3 separate regions of the Homo sapiens genome follow, and regions 1 and 2 are each linked to region 3. Evidence: promoter capture Hi-C in human tissues and cell types (Jung and others, 2019). All regions are on one chromosome and are shown on one strand. Each heading gives the region's core, a stretch centred on a gene start or on the middle of the fragment in contact. The rest is flanking DNA. Distances are from core to core; before and after follow the strand shown.

Evidence for each region. Contacts are between HindIII fragments. The study calls those that stand out against the background at their distance.
Region 1: a fragment that was not itself captured here is called in contact with the fragment with the promoter of KIF13B in region 3 in 4 of the 25 tissues and cell types used here (H1 embryonic stem cells, IMR-90 fibroblasts, dorsolateral prefrontal cortex and 1 more).
Region 2: a contact is called between a fragment that was not itself captured here and the fragment with the promoter of KIF13B in region 3, in 2 of the 25 tissues and cell types used here (bladder and lymphoblastoid cells).

What each region holds. Positions count from the first base shown.
Region 1 is chr8:29,149,071-29,151,770 of GRCh38, forward strand. KIF13B (kinesin family member 13B) reads right to left here. Exons shown (of 40, transcript NM_015254.4): 15 at 1,227-1,313. Among named protein-coding and RNA genes, the nearest start is that of KIF13B, 110 kb to the right of the region's middle. The HindIII fragment of the contact is 7,540 bases long and covers 1-2,700 here.
Region 2 is chr8:29,166,231-29,168,930 of GRCh38, forward strand. KIF13B (kinesin family member 13B) reads right to left here. Exons shown (of 40, transcript NM_015254.4): 11 at 1,143-1,355. Among named protein-coding and RNA genes, the nearest start is that of KIF13B, 95 kb to the right of the region's middle. The HindIII fragment of the contact is 8,522 bases long and covers 1-2,700 here.
Region 3 is chr8:29,261,674-29,264,373 of GRCh38, forward strand. It overlaps KIF13B (kinesin family member 13B), which reads right to left and starts at 1,397. Exons shown (of 40, transcript NM_015254.4): 1 at 1,307-1,397. The coding sequence starts at 1,361. RefSeq lists a silencer at 775-1,604. The HindIII fragment of the contact is 11,996 bases long and covers 1-2,700 here.

The DNA.
Region 1 (2,700 bases), core at 149-2,648, 110 kb before region 3:
AGTCTTCACGGATAAGGAGAAAGCAGGACAGAGGGAACAGTGTGGGAAAAGATGTGAAAATGGAAATGTTCATATTCCCTGGAGAAATGGGTAAAACAACGGGATATTCAAAATTTGTATAGCACACTAGAGCTAAAGCTGGAAAGATCAGCTTAATCCAAACGATGAGGGTTTTGAACACAAAACAAAGCAGTTTACACGTCATTTAATTTAGGAAGGAAAAAAATGCTCCATGCTCTTTGTGCCCATCTACCCTTTTCTCAGTAACCAAAATATCACTGGCCCATGGCAAAGGATCTCTGTTAGCTACAGAAAAGTCAGTATGACATCTGGAGCACACCGACCAGTGACAATAACAAGAGACCAGGATGTTAACTTTTTACAATATCCAGCCTGCCTGCCTTGTCAACACAACATCAATTTTGTTTGGGAAACCACATGTACAGCCCCAGGTGAGACACAGTCTTTCTCAGCCCCCTTTGTAGCTAAGAGGCAAATTCTAGCAAAGGAGACAGAAGGAGAAGATTGCTGGGGACTCTGGGAAGACTTCTCTGTTTTTTTGGATGAACAGGACAGTCAGGGCTAGTGCAGCTATGGTTCTCCTTTTTCTTCCTGTACCTGAATGCTGCTTTGACGGCAGTGCAGCATGGCCAACTTCAGGCCACAGAGAGATGCCAAGACAGTGACCAGACTTTAGCCATGACTTTTTTTGAGAGGCTTAGCCAACACTAACAACTATGTTCCTTTAGATTTCTGGTTCTGTCAGGGGAATAAATGATCTGTCTAACCCATTACAGTAAAATTTGCCATGACTTAGAGCTGAAAAGAATTCCTAAAAGAACCTTATTTTATAGATAAGGAAACTAAAACCACGACTACGTTTCCGTAAAAAAATAAATAAAAAAAAAGATAAACATGTCAGAAAAACATTAATAAATTCTTACACCACACGGCAAAAGAATCATCTTCTAGTGGGAAATAAAAGGGAAAAACTATGTAGGTAAACTCAGTATTTTTCCAGAGTATATTGTTTATATGTCCCTAGGGTTCAGACCATATACAGTGAATGAACACACACACACATATATAATACACATGCAGCAAATATATACGTACACACACAATAACATAATTGTTGTAGAGAAAGGTTTACTTTTTAACATGTATTTTCTATTTCAGAGCACAATCTTCAACAATCTCTTTAAGGGACATGAACAACATCATACCTGAAGAAATGATTGTTTCCCCATAATATCCTGTCCCCATGGTGTAGCTGTATTGGACTGGAGACAGATGACCCATTTACAAATGTTCTGTAAGGAGAAGAGATCAAACGTGAATGATGAGTACAGTATCATGTCTTCTGCTTTAATTTCCCAATAACATAGAGATATAGTTACTAGGGAAAACAATAATTCCCCCAAACACAACCTGTTCTTGGTGAATTTTAATATTTGCATTTACTCCTTTGCTGATTCACCTAAAATGTTTATGGTACAAAGCACAGGCACATCTCATTTTACTGCGCTTTGCTTTATTGTGCTTTGCAGATATCACATTTTTTACAAACGCTATCCTATGTTAAGCAAGGCTACAGGAGATACTTTTCAAACAGCACGTGCTCACTTCACGTCTGTCATGGAGGTCTGTGATAAGGGACCTCTGACCTCACCTCTCTAATTGTTTTTGGAACATCGTGAACTGCACCCATGTAAAATGGTAAATTTAGTAAATGTAGTATGGGTTTTGACTCTCTCCCTCTCCTCGGGTCTCTTTATTCCCCGAGACACAACCATATTGAAATTAGGCTAATTAATAACTACAATAACCTCTAACTGTTTAAGTAAAAGAAAGAGTCACACATCTCTCAAAAGGTGGAAATAATTAAGCTCAGTGAGGAATCACATCGAAAACCAAGACAGGACGAAAAGCCAGGCCTCCTGTACCAACAGTTGGCCAAGCTGTGAGTGCACATGAAAAGCTCTTGAAGGAAATTAAAGGTGCTTCTCCAGCGACTACATGAATGATAAGGCTGAACAGTCTTCCTGCTGATATGGAGAAAGTTCAGTGGTCTGGATGGAAAATCAACCCAGCCACAATATTCCCTCAACCAAACCCTAACCCAGAGCAAGGTCCTAACTCTCTTTAATTCTATGAACTGGGAGAAGTGAGGAAGCAACAGAAGAAAAGTTGGAAGCTAGCAGAGGTCGGTTCATGAGGTTTAAGGAAAGAAGCCACCTCTGTAACATAAAAGTGCAAGGTGAAGCAGCAAGTGCTGATGGAGAAGCTGCAGCAAGATCACTGATGAGATTTTTGATGTAGATGAAACAGACTTCTACTGGAAGAAGATGTCATCTCGAACTTTCTTAGCTAGAGAAGAGAAGTCAATGCCTGGCTTCAAAGCTTCAATGGCAGGCTGATTCTCTTAGGGGCTAATGTAGCTGGTGACTTTTAAGTTGATGCCAATGCTTACTGACCATTCTGAAAATCCTAGGGCCCTTAAGAATTATGCTAAATCAGCTCTGCCTGTGCTCTGTAAATGGAACAAAGCCTGGATGACAGTACGTCTGTTTACATCACAGTTTGCTGAATATTTTAAGCCCACTGTTGAGACCTAATGCTCAGAAGATTCCTTCCAAAATATTACTGCTCATTGATAATGCACCTGATCACCCAAGAGCTCTGATGGAGATGTACAAG
Region 2 (2,700 bases), core at 8-2,507, 96 kb before region 3:
AAATTATTCCTATAAAAACAGGATAAAATTCAACAGGTAAAAATACGATCAAGATAATCATCCTGACCATGTCTCTTACTGATTTATTCCCAGAAAACAGGTATGAGAAAGAAAGCAAACTCCAGAAAGAGCCCCACAGTGCTGAGTAACTGTGGGAAGAGAAATGCTAATGAAAGTAGGAATCCTGGCCGAGCACGGTGGCTCACGCCTGTAATCCCAGCACTTTGGGAGGCCGAGGCGGGCGTATCACCTGAGGTCAGGAGTTCAAGTTCAAGACCAGCCTGACCAACATGGAGAAACCCTGTCTCTATAAAAACTACAAAATTAGCTGGGCGTGGTGGCGTGCGCCTGTAATCCCAGCTACTCAGGAGGCTGAGGCAGGGGAATCACTTGAACCCAGGAGGCAGAGGTTGCAGTGAGCTGAGATCACACCATTGCACTCCAGCGTGGGCAACAAGAGTGAAACTCCACCTCAAAAAAAAAAAAAAAAAGTAGGAATCCTGAATCTAATATTTCATTCCACTTTCCCAAGAAGATGAGCACTTGGGATTGCAGGTCAGAGTTGGTAGGTTTTCAAATTTATTAATGCAACATTATCCATTACAGAATACACAGAAAACAGCTGTAATAGAGTACCACTAAATACATGGGTACTTCTACTACAAAATATTTTCTACAAACGTAATTAATCCACAACATGGAAAAGCTAGATTATGAAGGTGTAGAAGACTCAAGATTTTCATTCCGACTTCTACCAGGTAACAAATGAGATTCAACAAAAATCCTGCTCTCCATCATTTTCTGCACAAAAATTAAAATTACATACACATGGTCTCCAGCATCTCTCTTCCTCTCCTATTCTATTATACCTCTCTCTTTTGTCTGCCGCCTGAATAGAAATGCAAACATTTTCTCAATTCTATTTGCTCCTGTTCAATCTTTTTAACATCTGTAAAACCTCTTTGGAATTCTAATATGACAACCTTCCTTTATTTATTACTCATCCCAAAGTTCTCTTGCTGTAAGAAATTCGCAAATTTTAAGTAGAGTACTCATCCCTCACAGCCCAGGGGAAGGAAATTCAAGCTCTAGGCTGATTCCTCTTCCTGGACTCACAGGGCGCACGCGGTGGTGCCTCCTACCTCTGCTTTGGTCAGCTGCTCCCGGAGTTTCTCAACTTCTTCCCGGAGATCCCGGATAATTCGGGCATTAGGGTCCTCATTCACCACAGCGTGGTTTACAATGTGCTTGGCTCGATCTGCATACCGCAGAGTTGAGAGGGTTTCATCATAGTTATCAGCTGCAGGACTCACAGTAGCCACCATGGCGGTCTTGCTGTTACCCCCGAGGCTGTCCTACAGGAGAAAACAGAAAGTTGAGTAGCATATTAAAGTTGGAAGAAGACGTCATATGAGAAACCTGAAATCAAAAATGGTGAACAAATTTCCCCAGGTCAAACACATTCAATGACAGAGCCAGGGCTAAAATGCAGGTGTATGGACTCGAGTCCTGTGCTGTTTCTTCTCTGCCAAGCCATTGCACTAAAAATAGGGAGTTTTAGCCTTTGATAAAGGACGGGGAAATGTCATGAAACCTACCTTTATTTCGGTTTAACACAAATTAATTCTAAGTCATCTGCCCTATTTTATAGGCAAGATGATACCACAAGAACACAGACTACTCGGAATAAAAAAGGACTCCTTAAATGCCTCCAACATCTTCCTCCTTAGAGGAACAAGCATGATACTTACTTGGCAACCTCCTCCACAACCCCCTGTACTGGGAGTCTCTGTGAAGCCTAATAATGGCTCAGAAAGTTGCTGTTACAAGCTATCAAGCACCTTGTAAAGTTTTTAAAACATAAGGTACAATTATAGTCTCACAAAAAAGTATGTTAAAGCAACTTCATTTTCTTCGCTCTGATAGCACTTCAAAAGCTACTAAGATTGCAAGTTCTACAGAAGCACTTCCACCGTTCAGACAATGGTCCTGAGAAGAGATACTGTCTTCATGACACTCAAACTGCTAAGTACAGTGAAACGGCTTTAGGACCGACTGGCTTCCAACAGAATGAAAAACCACCCTCACTTGAGAACATTAAAAATAGAGATTTAACTCAAGCACAAAAGAAGACTTGGGGCATCAAGCCCACTGCGCTCTGCTGCACCACAGACAAGGCTGCCTATGCAGGCGACCTCCTGGCGCCCACACCCTAGTACTCTCTGCTTCCCTTGAGGGTGGCCAGGACTTATTCATCGGTCTCCAAGGAATGAAAGTGATGGCATGTCACCTCTAAGGGTAGATTCAAAGAAGATGGTGGCTTCTGTCTTGGGTGTTTTCTTTCACTCTGGGGGAAACGGGCTGCCGTGAAGTGAGGTGGCCCTACGAAGAGAGGCCCACAGGCACGAGTTTGGAAGCAGATCTTCTGGACCCTGCTGACAACCATGTAAGTGAGCAGACACCTCCCCACACCGGTCATGCCTTGAGATGATGATGACGGCAGCCCCCCATCCCCAACACTTTAATTACATCCATGTGAAACAACCCGGCTAGAGCCACGTCATTAAGCCACACGCACCCGGAGTCCTGACCTATGGAAACCCTGAGACAATAAATGACTTGTTTGCAGCTGTTCCTCTGGGGGTAATCTGTTACAATCAATAGATAACTACTCATATATTAGGATACCAACCCAGGCTG
Region 3 (2,700 bases), core at 147-2,646:
TAGTGAAGCAAAGCAGGACTCAATCTTGCACTAGTTGAGAACTTAAAGTAATTAAGTTCTTAGGGAAAAAAACTCACCTGACAGCTTTAATCGGACCTAGCAGGAACAGGACAAAACAATTCCCATAGATGAGATAACTCCAAGCGAGAAACCAATTTCCCCGAGAAGGACAAACCAACAAAGCTTATGTCAACTGGTTGATCTGTATGTCTCAATATATACAAAAGAAAGCAAAGAAGAGGAAAACAACCTATAATTTCTACATAAAAATTAAACAACACTTGATTTTGCTAAGAAGCTACAACTTTGTCTCTGGTACTTAAATGATTCTAATTAGTTCAAAGTCTCATCAATGGCAAAGTCATCTCCTGAGACAGTAATAGTGACCCCCAATGACAGGACCTTGTATATAAAGCGTTTTCAAACACATTATCTTATTTAAAGCAACTCACCCAGTCATGCTGCTTTGACTATCAAAGCCAAGACCCAGCCCACCTCCTCCCCTGACTTTTGGGGTTCTCTCCACTCCCCGGGTCTACAGATTATTTAAATGTACTCGGTTTATCTGCCTTCTCTACACTCCCTGCAGAGTTAAGAGAATGTCAGAAAGATACAATTCCACAAGAATCTTGGCACTTTAGCTATTTATTGAGAGATGATGAATGAGACTTCAGGCAAAACCAAAACTTTCTCAACTGTCCAAAAACAACGAAAAGGGCATCTCCTCCACCTGACCCCAATCTCAGGACGCCCAGGTGGAAGGAACTCGCCGCGGGGCACCCGCCTGGCCCCCTGCCCTTCTTCCCGCCGCGGGCCAAGGCGGTGCAGGCTTGGGCGACCCGGGCGAGACGCGGGGTCCCGGGGGGTCCCGGGCGGTCCCGAGGCGGGCTGCAGGGGCTGGCGACCCGCGCGCGGGGGCGACGATGACAGCTGGCGGGGAAGGAGCGAGGCTGAGGGGCCAGGACGAGGCTGGGCGCGAGGGCCGAGGGCGCCCTCGGGAACCTCCGGGGGAGACGAGAGGGCAAAAGGGCGCAGGGGCGGGGCGGGCGCAGGCGGAAGGGGCAGCGGGGCCGGCACGAGGGGCCCGACGGCGCCAGGGACGGGGCTGGCCAGGGGGGAAGGGAGGGGAGAAGAGGGAGCCGGGCGTCTCAGCGCGGGAGCGGGTTTCAGGGTCCCCGGGCCCCTCCTCGCGCCCCGCCGCTGACTATAGGGGCGGGGCCGCCGGACCCCCCACGGCGGCCGAGGGAAGGGCGCGCCAGGCACCTGCCGCCTCCGCCCCGGCGGCCCAGGAGGGCTCGGCTCTCACCTCGCCGGTTCATGGGTCGTATCCGCACCGCCACTTTCACTTTGGAGTCCCCCATCCTGCAGCCGCCGAGGAACTCGTTCGGCTTCCGTCTGCCGCGGCCACCGGCGACTCTTCGGGGTTGACCCGGCGGGAGGGGGCCGGGGGCGGAGCCGGGGGTGGGGACCGGGCTGGGGGCGGGGCCGGCGCGAGCTCCGGGCGCTCCCCGCTGTATGGCGGGACTTGTAGTTCCCCAGGGTCGTCGTGGGCGGGGCCGCAGCGAAGGCGGGGGCGGGAATGCTCGGGCGCGAGTCGTTTGCTACAACTTACCTACAGCAATGACGGCTTTTGTAAATTACACACCATTCTTGCTCTCGCAGCCAGTATTGAGAAGTAAGCCTTCAAGAGCTGATACCTCTTCTGAAAAACAATTGAATAGATGGCGTCAGGGACCCCGCTACCTCTTCCTGCTCATTTCCTGCCAATCTTAGTGTTTGATCCCTGGCTCAAGTTATTTCCTCTGCCTGGATTGACGTCCGGCCTTGTTTGCTGAGCTCGTCCTTCACGACAAGTTGCAAATCACGTTTTCTGGGAGTGTCCATAGGTCCACGGGTTAACATTGTCCTGTGAGTCCCCCTCCTTTGAGACAGGACCTTGGGCTCTGAAAACCATCTGAGTTCAAAGCCCACCTCAGCGCTTCCCACTGTGTGACCAGGGGCAAGTTATTTGACCGCTCTGGGCTTGTCTTTAATATGAAAAGTGGATATGATACTAATACCTAGTAAAATAGGTACATTTTTAAATAAGATTAACATATGTGTAACCTAGCCTTTAGTAGAGACCCATAAACATTAATTGCATGAATTAATGAATGAGGCCACACTAAAATTAGCTTTTTATTAGCCCTGGCAGACATTCTAACAGGTGGCCTGGGTGCCAGAGCCAGCACGCAAACATGTTCTGTTTGGCCCAACAGTGTTGGCCAACACATAAAAATCAGATTTGTGGCCAGGTGCAGGGGCTCACACCTGGAATCCCAGCATTTTAGGATGCTGAGGCAGGAGGATTGCTTGAGGCCAGGAGTTTGAGACCAGCTTGGGTAACAGAGTGTGAAATCAGATTTGTGCATGCAGTACTGGGCCTACATTACATATTGGACAGAGTGGATTGGAACTAAATAGCAGCAGCCACCTTTATCAGAGACCCGTCTCTCCACTTCACCACGGCCCCCCTCCAGGTGGCTTTACCACACATGCGCCTGGACCTTGTGGGTTTGTGACCCCTGCTTAGATGTGTTTAAATGATAGTAATAGAACTCAGAACCATTTTACAGATGAGTAAATACAGAAAGCTGGTAAGACTTGCCCTTTTACCAACCATCCTGTTATTGAGTATCTTCAATACAAGCAATGTTGTCA